Linked DNA regions of Homo sapiens: region 1 is linked to region 2. Evidence: promoter capture Hi-C in 16 types of primary human blood cells and fetal thymus (Javierre and others, 2016). All regions are on one chromosome and are shown on one strand. Each heading gives the region's core, a stretch centred on a gene start or on the middle of the fragment in contact. The rest is flanking DNA. Distances are from core to core; before and after follow the strand shown.

What was found. The method cuts DNA at HindIII sites, captures the fragments that hold promoters and counts their contacts. A CHiCAGO score of 5 or more calls a contact.
Region 1: a contact is called between a fragment that was not itself captured here and the fragment with the promoter of OPN1SW in region 2, in 1 of 17 cell types (M2 macrophages). The highest score is 5.4, in M2 macrophages.

The regions. Positions count from the first base shown.
Region 1 is chr7:129,085,738-129,091,085 of GRCh38, forward strand. No RefSeq gene overlaps it. Among named protein-coding and RNA genes, the nearest start is that of TNPO3, 33 kb to the left of the region's middle. RefSeq lists an enhancer at 4,121-4,270. The HindIII fragment of the contact is 1,818 bases long and covers 2,433-4,250 here.
Region 2 is chr7:128,774,442-128,779,453 of GRCh38, forward strand. It overlaps OPN1SW (opsin 1, short wave sensitive), which reads right to left and starts at 1,353. Exons shown (of 5, transcript NM_001385125.1): 1 at 998-1,353; 2 at 545-713; 3 at 57-222. The coding sequence starts at 1,340. RefSeq lists cis regulatory regions at 1,339-1,906, 1,347-2,341, 1,350-5,012, 1,350-5,012, 1,350-2,449 and 1 more. The HindIII fragment of the contact is 6,893 bases long and covers 1-5,012 here.

The DNA.
Region 1 (5,348 bases), core at 2,092-4,591, 310 kb after region 2:
GATCTTGGCTCACTGCAGCCTCCGCCTCCTGGGTTCAAGTGATTCCCCTGCCTTAGCCTCCCAAGTAGCTGGGATTATAGGCATGCGCCACCACGCCTGGCTAATTTTTTGTATTTTTAGTATAGATGGGGTTTCACCATGTTGGCCAGGATGGTCTCCATCTCCTGACCTCGTGATCCGCCCACCTCGGCCTCCCAAAGTGCTGGGATTACAGGCGTAAGCCACTGCGCCCAGCCTATTATTATTATTTTTTGAGACGGAGTCTCGCTCTGTCACCCAGGCTGGAATGCAGTGGCGCGATCTCGGCTCACTGCAACCTCTGCCTCCTGGGTTCAAGTGATTCTCCTGCCTCAGCCTCCAGAGTAGCTAGGATTACAGGTGCCCACCACCACACCCAGCTAATTTTTGTATTTTGTTTAGTAGAGACAGGGTTTTACCATGTTGGCCAGGCTGGTCTCAAACTTCTGACCTCAAATGATCTGCCTGCCTTGGCCTCCCAGAGTGCTGGGATTACAGATGTGAGGCACGGCAGCTGGCCAATGGCAGCATTATTTATAATAGTCAACATGTGAAAAGAACTCCAATGTCCACCAACTGAGGAATGGATAAACAAAATGTGGTCTATCCATACAGTGAAATATTATTCAGCCATAAAAGGGAATGAAGCACTGATACGCGCCACAACACAGATTAACCTTGAAAACATTCAGCTAAGTGAAAGAAGCCAAACACACACATACCAACCCCACATATTGTATGATTCCATTTTTATTTATTTTTATTTTTATTTTTTATTTTTTCAGACAGGGTGTCACTGTCACCCAGGTTGGAGTGCAGTGGCACAATCTCAGCTCACTGCAACCTCCACCTCCCGGGTTCAAGCAATTTTTCTGCCTCAGCCTCCCAAGGAGTTGGGATCACAGGCATGCGCCACCACACCCAGCTAATTTTTGTATTTTTAGTGGAGATGGGGTTTCGCCATGTTGGCCAGGCTGGGCTTGAACTCCTGGCCTCAAGTGATCCGCCCACTTTGGCCTCCCAAAGTGCTGGGATTATAGGTGTGAGCCACCATGCCCAGCCTGATTCCATTTTTATGTGAAATGTCCAGAATTGGCAAATAGAGACAGAAAGTAGATTAGTGGTTGCCCAGGTCAGAGTGAGGGTGGCTGGGGGCAATGAAGGTGACTGCTAAAGGGTACAGAATTTCTTTGTGGGGTAATACAAATATTCTCAAATTGATTGTGATGGTGTTTGCACAACCCGTACATATACTAAAAACTACAAAATTACATATTTAAAATGGCTAATTTTTACCTATGTGAATTATATCTCAATAAAGCTGTTACTGAAAAAATGTTCACTTACTGAGGTCATTCCATTATATGAATATACTTCAGTTTGTCTAGCCATTCATTTATTGAGTCATTGGATTGGCTCCTATTTTTGGCTACTAAAAATAAAGCTGCAGACCAGTGAAGTACTCACACCTGTAATCCCAGCACTTTGGGAGGCCAAGATGGGAAGATGGCTTGAGGCCAGAAATTCGAGACCAGCCTGGGCAATATAGCAAGACCCCATCTCTACAAAAAATTTAAAAATTAGCCCAGCATGGTGGCTTGCACCTGTAATCCCAGCTACACAGGAGGCTGAGGTGGGAAGATCACTTAAGCCCAGGATTTTGAGGCTGCAGTGAGCTACGATCATGCCACTGTACTCCAACCTGAGCAACAGAGCGAGACACTATCTCTAAAAAAAATAAAATTCGGCCGGGCGCGGTGGCTCACGCCTGTAATCCCAGCACTTTGGGAGGCCGAGGCGGGCGGATCACAAGGTCAGGAGATCGAGACCATCCCGGCTAAAACGGTGAAACCCCGTCTCTACTAAAAATACAAAAAATTAGCCGGGCGTAGTGGCGGGCGCCTGTAGTCCCAGCTACTTGGGAGGCTGAGGCAGGAGAATGGCGTGAACCCGGGAGGCGGAGCTTGCAGTGAGCCGAGATCCCGCCACTGCACTCCAGCCTGGGCGACAGAGCGAGACTCCGTCTCAAAAAATAAAAATAAAAATAAAAAATAATAATAAAAATAAAAAATAAAATTCAGGCCAGGTGCGGTGGCTCACGCCTATAATCCCAGCACTTTGGGAGGCCGGGGCAGGCAGATCACAAGGTCAGGAGATCAAGACCATCCTGGCTAACACGGTGAAACCCCATCTCTACTAAAAAATACAAAAAATTAGCCGGGCATGGTGGCCGGCACCTGTAGTCCCAGCTACTTGGGAGGCTGAGGCAGGAGAATGGCGTGAACCCAGGAGGTGGAGCTTGCAGTGAGCCAAAATAATGCCACTGCACTCCAGCCTAGGCGACAGAGTGAGACTCCGTCTCAAAAAATTAAATTAAATTAAATTAAATTAAATTAAATTAAATTAAAAAATAAAGCTTCAAGCCAGGTGTGCTGGCACCTGCCTGTAATCCCAGTTACCTGAGAGGCTGAGACAGGAGGATCACTAGAGCCCTGGAGTTCGAGTCCAGCCTGGGCAACATAGCAAGACCCTATCTCTTAAAAAAAGAGCTGCTATGATTTTTATTTGTCAATTATGCCTCAATAAAGTTGAGGAAGAAAACAATAAAGCTACTATGAACATTTGTGTGCAAGTCTTTGTATGAATATGTGCTTTTTTTGGGTGAATACACAGAGGTGGAAAGGCTAGATCATATGGTAAGTATGTTTAACTTTTTAAGAAACTGATCAGCTGTTTTCCAAAGTGGTTTTATCATTTTACATTCCCACCAACAGTGTATGAGAGTTCTAGTTCCTCTGCACTCTTATTAACACATGGTTTTAATCAGACATCTAATAGGTATGCAGTAGTTTCTGATTGTGATTTTAATTTATATTTCCTTAATGTGAATAATGTTGAACATCTTTTCATGTGCTTATTTGCCATCCATTTTTTTGGTGAAATAACTGTTTAGATCTGTTGCCTACTTTTTGAAAAAAAGTTGAATTCTTTGCTCTTATTTGATTTCCAAAGTTCTTTATATATTCTGGATACACATCCTTTATCAGATATGGGCTTTGCAAATATTTTCTCCCAGTCAGTGGCTGGTCTTTTCATTCTTCTCATGGCATCTTTTCAGGAAAAGAAGTTTTTAATTTTGATGAAGTCCAATTTATCAAATTTATTTCCTATTGACTGTGCTTTTAGTGTAATATCTAAGACATATTATCTAATTAAAGGTCACAAAGATTTTACTTCTATGTTTTCTAGAAGTTTTATAGTTTTAGATTTTACACTTAGGTGCATAATCGATTTTGACTTAATTTTTATACGTGGTATAAGGTATGAATTGAAGTTCTTTTTTTCTTTTTTTGCATATAGCTATCCAACTGTTCTAGCCCAACTCACTGAAACTATTCATTAGAAATTATCCTTTCTCATTGCCTTTGGGTCTTTTTAAAAATCAATTGTATATGTGTGTGTATGTGTGTCTGAACTTTCTATTCTGTTCCATTTGATCTGTTCTATTTGAGCTGTCTATCATGATGTTAATAGCACCTCATCTTGATGACTATTATTTTTTATGAAGCCTTGAAATCAGGTGGTGTTAGCCCTCCAACTTTGTTATTCTCTTTCAAAGATGTTTTGGCTAATCTAGATCCTTTGCATTTTCATGGGAATTTTTAGACAGTTTGTCAGTTTCTATAATTTTTTTTTCCCTGTAAAGCTGAGACAGAAACCCAGGGCTCTGAGGTCAGTCTGCCTAGGTTCAAGTTTTATCTTTACCTCTTCATAACTGTCTGACTTTGGCCAAGTTACCTAACTTCTCTGCAATTCCATTTCTCATTCACAAAGCTGAAATAATAATATTATCAATCTCATGGGGTTGTGAAAGGGCTTAGATGAAGTAATGCAGATAAGGCTGAGAGAATGAAAATACAAACAGACAATGGCCAGATCATATATGACAATAGAACTCTGGGCCACAACCTCTGCAGCAACCCATCCAGGAAGCCAAACCACAGCCTCTGCAGCAATCATCCCAGAACAGTCAGAACTTGACCAAGTCAGTAAGTGCAGCTGCCCTAACTTCTGCCCCCACTTCCAACTCAGGACCAAGCACAGAAAGCCAAATATGGTCCCCAATCCAATCACACTGGATGCTCAATTTCTAGTCAGCCTACCTCTAGCTTTCCCATGCCAACAAGCTCCAATCAAGGCATAGCTGAAGACTTCCCTTTTTTTCACTATAAAGCTTTGCACAGCCCTGCCTGCCTGAGTCTCTGACAAATGCGAGTGATGGTGGCTGAGACCCTGGCTAAAGCAAGCGCTGAATAAACAGCTTCTGTTTCTTCTCACTTGGGTGGTTTTTGTTTATTTCCACAGTGCTTAACACTGTGCTCGCAGAGTTAGTGATTGCCCAATACATTTTATATAGAGCAGTAGAATTGCTTTGTCGTATGAAACTTTAAAAAGAATTCCAATAGATAAATAAAAGTGGCATTTCAACCGTTTATTTTATCTAAGTCAGCCAGTAATAAAGGTAGGACTTTTGCAGTGATCTCAATAACATTAAATGAACATGATGGCTGATCCTTGCAACCACAAGGTTTTTTAAAATCCTGATTCACATAATAAGAAGTTGCAAATGCCAAATTTCTGTTTTCTTTTAAACAGGTCACTTTGCAATTAAATATTTGCAGAACCTCTGAAGCACCTCTTCAAAACTCTAGGGCTCTCAGAAACGTGGAGTAAAAACTTACCCTGATGTGAGGTCAGGGTACAGGGTCTTGATTTCAGTCCTAGTGATGCTGCCACTCTGCCGGATAACCTTGGGCATGACACTTGACCTCTGAGATTTGTTCCTCCCTTGTAAATGGAAAGAGCTGAACTAAAGAACTTCTCAAAATTTAGTGCGCATGGATAACCACATGTATATACTGGAGGAGGGTGCGTGCCCATTTAAAATGTAGGTTTCTGACCCACCCAGTGGCGTCTGAGTCAGGGTCCTGGAATCTGCATTTTAACAAGCACAGCTGATTCTGGTGCTAGTGACAATTGGGCACAATTTGAGCAGCACAGGAGCAAATGGTCTTTTAGGTCCCTTCTGGCTCTGATGTGTGTGATTCAGGTGAGGTTGTTGAAGAGAAGTGGGCTGCAGCATTGGGAAAGGAAAAGTGAAGGAGAAAACCATTCAACAGTGGGGAAAATTTTGTTTTTTTAAAAAGCCTATTGTGTCAATATTCTACTTTATTTCTTTTTTCTTTTCTTTTCTTTTCTTTTCTTTTTTTTGAGAAGGAGTCTCGCTCTGTCGCCCAGGCTGGAGTGCAGTGGTGGGATCTTTGCTCACT
Region 2 (5,012 bases), core at 103-2,602:
TCCTTCTCATGTGGAGCCCCGAACCCCTTCTTCCCTGACTATCAAATGCCACTCACAGCTTTCAGGGCCCTCAGCAGCTGAGTGTAGGAGAAGCAGATGAGGGAGAGAGGCACAATGAAGCAGAAGATGAAGAGGAACCACGTATAGGACTCGCTGCGGTATTTGGTGCCCACGGTGTACCAGTCAGGGCCACAGGAACACTGCAGGCCCTCAGGGATGAACCTGCAAAGGACCAAACACTTGCTCACTGGACTCTCCACAAGAGTGCAGTGGGAGCTGAGATGCCTGGATTGTGTTCTCCACTTAGAACCCACGGAATGCCCTAAGGCTTCAAGCAGGGGGGTTTTCTGTCCTGACTGGGAGAAGCTACAGCAATTCCAACTGCAGAGTAAACGTTAGCACTTGTCTCCCACTGCCCTTTCGCCTCATATTGCAACTCTTTAAAAGTAGAGGTCAAAGACTAAATAGTTATACCCAAGCTCTCTTTCCACCCACATCAACCTGAGCTCCTAGTTAACTCAGCACCACTGCCCTGCACTCTCACCGGCTCCAGCCAAAGAAGGGTGGGATGGAGACGCCAATACCAATGGTCCAGGTAGCCAGGACCACCGTCAGTGCATGCTTGGAGCTGAAGCGGAAGTTGCCGAAGGGCTTACAGATGACAATGTAGCGCTCAAAGGCCAGGAAGGCCAGTGACCATCCTGTAACCAGACCTGTGGTGAAATGTGAGGATAATGGGCTAGACAGAGCCCCACCCAGCCTGGCTGGCAGAGTGGCAAACAGATCGGGTGGAGCAAGCACAGAGAGACAGGGCTGGACTGACATTTGGAGTGAAGACTCAAACATCCTATTTTAGCCAAACTTCTAGTCTGGGTTGCTTTGTACCCCAGTATTTTAAAAAGCACCAGACTCATTTCCCCCAGACTCCTCTTTAGGAACCCCCTCCAGTGGAGTAGCAACCTTTGCCTTCCCCTAACCCCTTTTTCCCCTGCAGTACCTGCTACAGTGCCCAGGAAGCCCTCCAAAGCACAAACATGGCGACCGAAGACGAAGTATCCGTTACAGCTGGCGACGAAGACAGGGAAGACAGAGAAGATGCAGAGGAGGAAGCCTCCGAAGGACACGTTGACCAGAATGTAGTTGAGGGGCTGCCGCAACTTTTTGTAGCGCAGTGTGGCCACCAGCACCATGGCATTGAGTGGGAACCCTATAAGGAAGACAGTGCCCATGAAAGCTGCCTGGAGGTAGAAGGCCCAGACAGGGGCAATGTGGTACTGAGGCCCATCCCACGGCCCCACTGAAGAGATATTTTTGAACAGATAAAACTCTTCCTCCGACATTTTTCTCATGGATGCCCCACACCCCCCTCTGAGTCCTCTTATAGGTGATCCTCCCACCCCACAAAACCCCTCCTCTAAAAACACTTGGGCTCTGTGAATGATCAATACTAATCCTAAACCTCCCAAGGACAAAGTTTGGGATTAGAAATCCCTAAACCACTACCTAAACCTTTTGTGGCCCCAAAGCCGATTGTGTTCTTCAGAGGATAAGAGATTGGGCTCAAATAATCTGGATATGCAATGCTGGGTGCTGGGATGAACAGAAGTGGACTCCCTGAGGTCTGGGAGGTGCTGACCCATATTCACTGAAGATGCTTCCACTTTTTTGTTCTTTTAATGGGGCTATAGAAAGGGCACGCCTCTTATTTTGGCTTCTGGCACAACTGTATCAGTTAAGTTTTCCTCAACTCATCTGCCCCTTTGTGGAAGGTGCCCATCTTAAGTCTGCTGAGAGGCTAGGAACCAGCCCTGGGCTGCAGGAAAGGGCTGGGAGTGGGGAGTGCCCTGGAAGCACATCAGTAAACAGCCTTGATGGAACAGGACTTAGGCAACTTGACAATGCCTAGAGGTCTAGGGCATCCCTGAGCCAGGCTGCCTCCATTTCTTTGTGTTGAATCTACTCAAAGAGTGTGCCTTTCCTACTCAGACCTCCAGCCAGGGAGGTGGGTCTGTTCACTGTCCTTACGCCATGTTCATGCCTACCCCTACCCTTAGCTCAACAAGTCGCCACAGTCTTCCTCCTGTCTGTTCATTGAAGTCTTATCTAGCCCTCACAGCCTACCTCACAAACACCTCTTCTGTGCAGCCCACCCCAGTGACACCAACTCTGCTTTAAGTTCCACCTGCACTTGTACTCAGTACTACACTTTAGGCTTTATGAATGAATCTTTTCCACCTCAGCAGATCATAAATATATAGATGAGTTGGCCGGGCGTGGTGGCTCAAGCCTGTAATCCCAGCACTTTGGGAGGCTGAGATGGGTGGATCACAAGGTCAGGAGATCGAGACCATCCTGGCTAACGGTGAAACCCCGTCTCTACTAAAAATACAAAAAATTAGCTGGGTGTGGTGGTGGGCGCCTGTAGTCCCAGCTACTTGGGAGGCTGAGGCAGGAGAATGGCGTGAACCCGGGAGGCGGAGCCTGCAGTGAGCCGAGATCACGCCACTGCACTCCAGCCTGTGGGACAGAGCGAGACTATATATATAGATGAGTTAAAAGTGACACACTTTAGGTATAAGTAAGTTTAAAAGTGAAAGGATGGTCCAGTAATGGCAGAATAGTTTATTAGATGAATGCCCCCTTAGGCAAAAAAATTGTAAACTGGACACAATATGAAAAACAACTTTTTGAAAACACCTAAAGTATCCAAAGCAGGCAGAAACTGAAAGGAACTCAACTCTTCAATGAAAAGAACCATCTACATTGTTGTTTTTTTTTTTCCCTGAGTGTACTCCCGAGTATAAATGGCACAGGATAGCTAGAACTTGAGCAGAAAGCCCCAGCCTTTTTTGGCTTGAAGAGTCAGAGGACAGAGGACAGGAGACAGAGGACAGTTTGGGACTCCAGAACAGCTGAAGGTGGATTTCCTGGAATGAAAGAAGCCACAGAAGGCAAAGTCTTTAAATCTGCATATAAACTCCCCTCAAATCATAGGCTGACTGCTGAACTGTGGATGGAGGAATTTCCAAGAGCCCAGTAAAAGACAACCACTGGAGGTCTGAAAGAGCTAAGCAGATTTTGACTGTTACCCACTGTAGCAGAGAAAGAGTTTGAATTTGAATCCCAAGTCAGAGGGTCTGGGTAAACACTTAGGGCTTTCTACTTGAAACTCCCAAAAGGCCACACCATAGAGCTAAAATCTATATCCCAGGACTAAATATTTGTTCTGAGAGTAAGGTCAAAGCCAAAGCTGACTCATACTAGCAAAAGATAAAACCAAGCCTCAGCGGGTTCAAGGTGATCAACTAGTAAGTTAATTGCTTATTAGAACAAAAATCAACACCCCTCAATGGAAGATAACCCAGTTTCTAAAGTTCACTATCTACAATGTCTAATATACAATGAAAAATTAAAAGGCGTGTGAAAGAAAAAAAAAACCCACAGGAAAATATGAGTCATAGCCAAAAGAAAAAGCAAGCAATAGAAACAGAACCTGAGATGACCCAAGAAGTTGGCACCAGCAGGAAAAACTTCAAACAGCGATATAAATATATTCAAGAACTGGAAGGAAAAAAATGATCATCGTGAGTTAATGGATCTCAGCAGAAGAATGGGAAAAATAAAATAGCCAAATGGAAATTCCAGAACTGAAAACTACAACATGTCAAATGAAGAATTTACTAGATGGCTGAACAGCAGATTGGACAGCAGAAGAAAGGATCAGTGAACTTACAGATAGATCAATAACAAAAAGATATCTGGAAAATCCCCCAAACACTTATGAATAAGCAATATACATCTAAATATCCTGTGAGTCAAAAGAGAAATCATAAGGAAAAACTGAAAGAATTTCAGCTGAATAACAACAAAAAAGTATTAGAAATTGAAGGAGTCAGCTAAAGCAGTACTTAGAGAAAAATTTATAGCTTTAAGTATTTATACTAGACAATAAATGTTTAAAATTTAAACTTTCACCTTGAGAAGCTGAAAGGGTGAATCAAATCTAAAATAAATAGGGGCAGATACTAAAAAGCAGAGCAGAAAACATTGAAATTAAAAATGAATAAAGAATGGAGAAAAATCAATGAAACCTGAAGCAAAACAAAATAGTTCTCTCCTGTCTCCAGCATCTCCTCAGTAGGATCTGAGCCAATCTCAGGTCACTGCAACCTCCATCTCCTGGGTTCAAGTGATTCTCTTGCCTCAGTCTCCCATGTAGCTGGGATTACAGGTCTGTGCCACCATGCCCAGCTAATTTTTGCATTTTTAGTAGAGACAGGGTTTCACCATTTTGGCCAGGCTGTTCTCAAACTCCTGACCTCAGGTGATCTGACCACCTCGGCCTCCCGAAGTGCTGGGATTACAGGCATGAGCCACTGTGCCCAGCTGACTTAATTATTTCCGAAAGACCGCCACTCTCATGTGCATGCGCACACATGCACATCCCACACAAACACTCGGCCGCAGGTGGGAGTCCTGGTGGAGGTTACTGGGGAGAGCCAGCTAAGGGTCCAGTCAGATTGCCTGAGTCATGGGGGGAACAGGGTGGGAGGGCACTGTCTGGGAAGGTGTGAGGACAGTATTAGGAGGGGCCAAAGATGTGGCCACCTAGCCTTGTACAGATGAGCAGAGCTGCTCATCCGTTGCCCTGGGCAGGACTTCAGGACCAGGGCCAGAGGTCACCTTAAGGTGCCTATCCCTGAGCAGGGCACATGGACTGTGTGTGAGCCTGGCCTGCGTGGAACAAGCCAGCCTCCACTGTCCGCTGGGCTCTGCTGAGGTGCCCACCTCTGCAAACATTTCTGATGGGAGGCTAAATGGCGAGGGTGCAAGACACCCCGGGCCCTTTTACATCCAGTGTACAAGGCTAGGTGGCCACATCTTTGGCCCCTCCTAATACTGTCCTCACGCCTTCCCAGACAGTGCCCTCCCACCCTGTTCCCCCAACAGCAGAGGGAGACAATGGGCCCAAGCTGGAGGCAACCCAATCCCTGAGGGGCTCAGACCAAAAA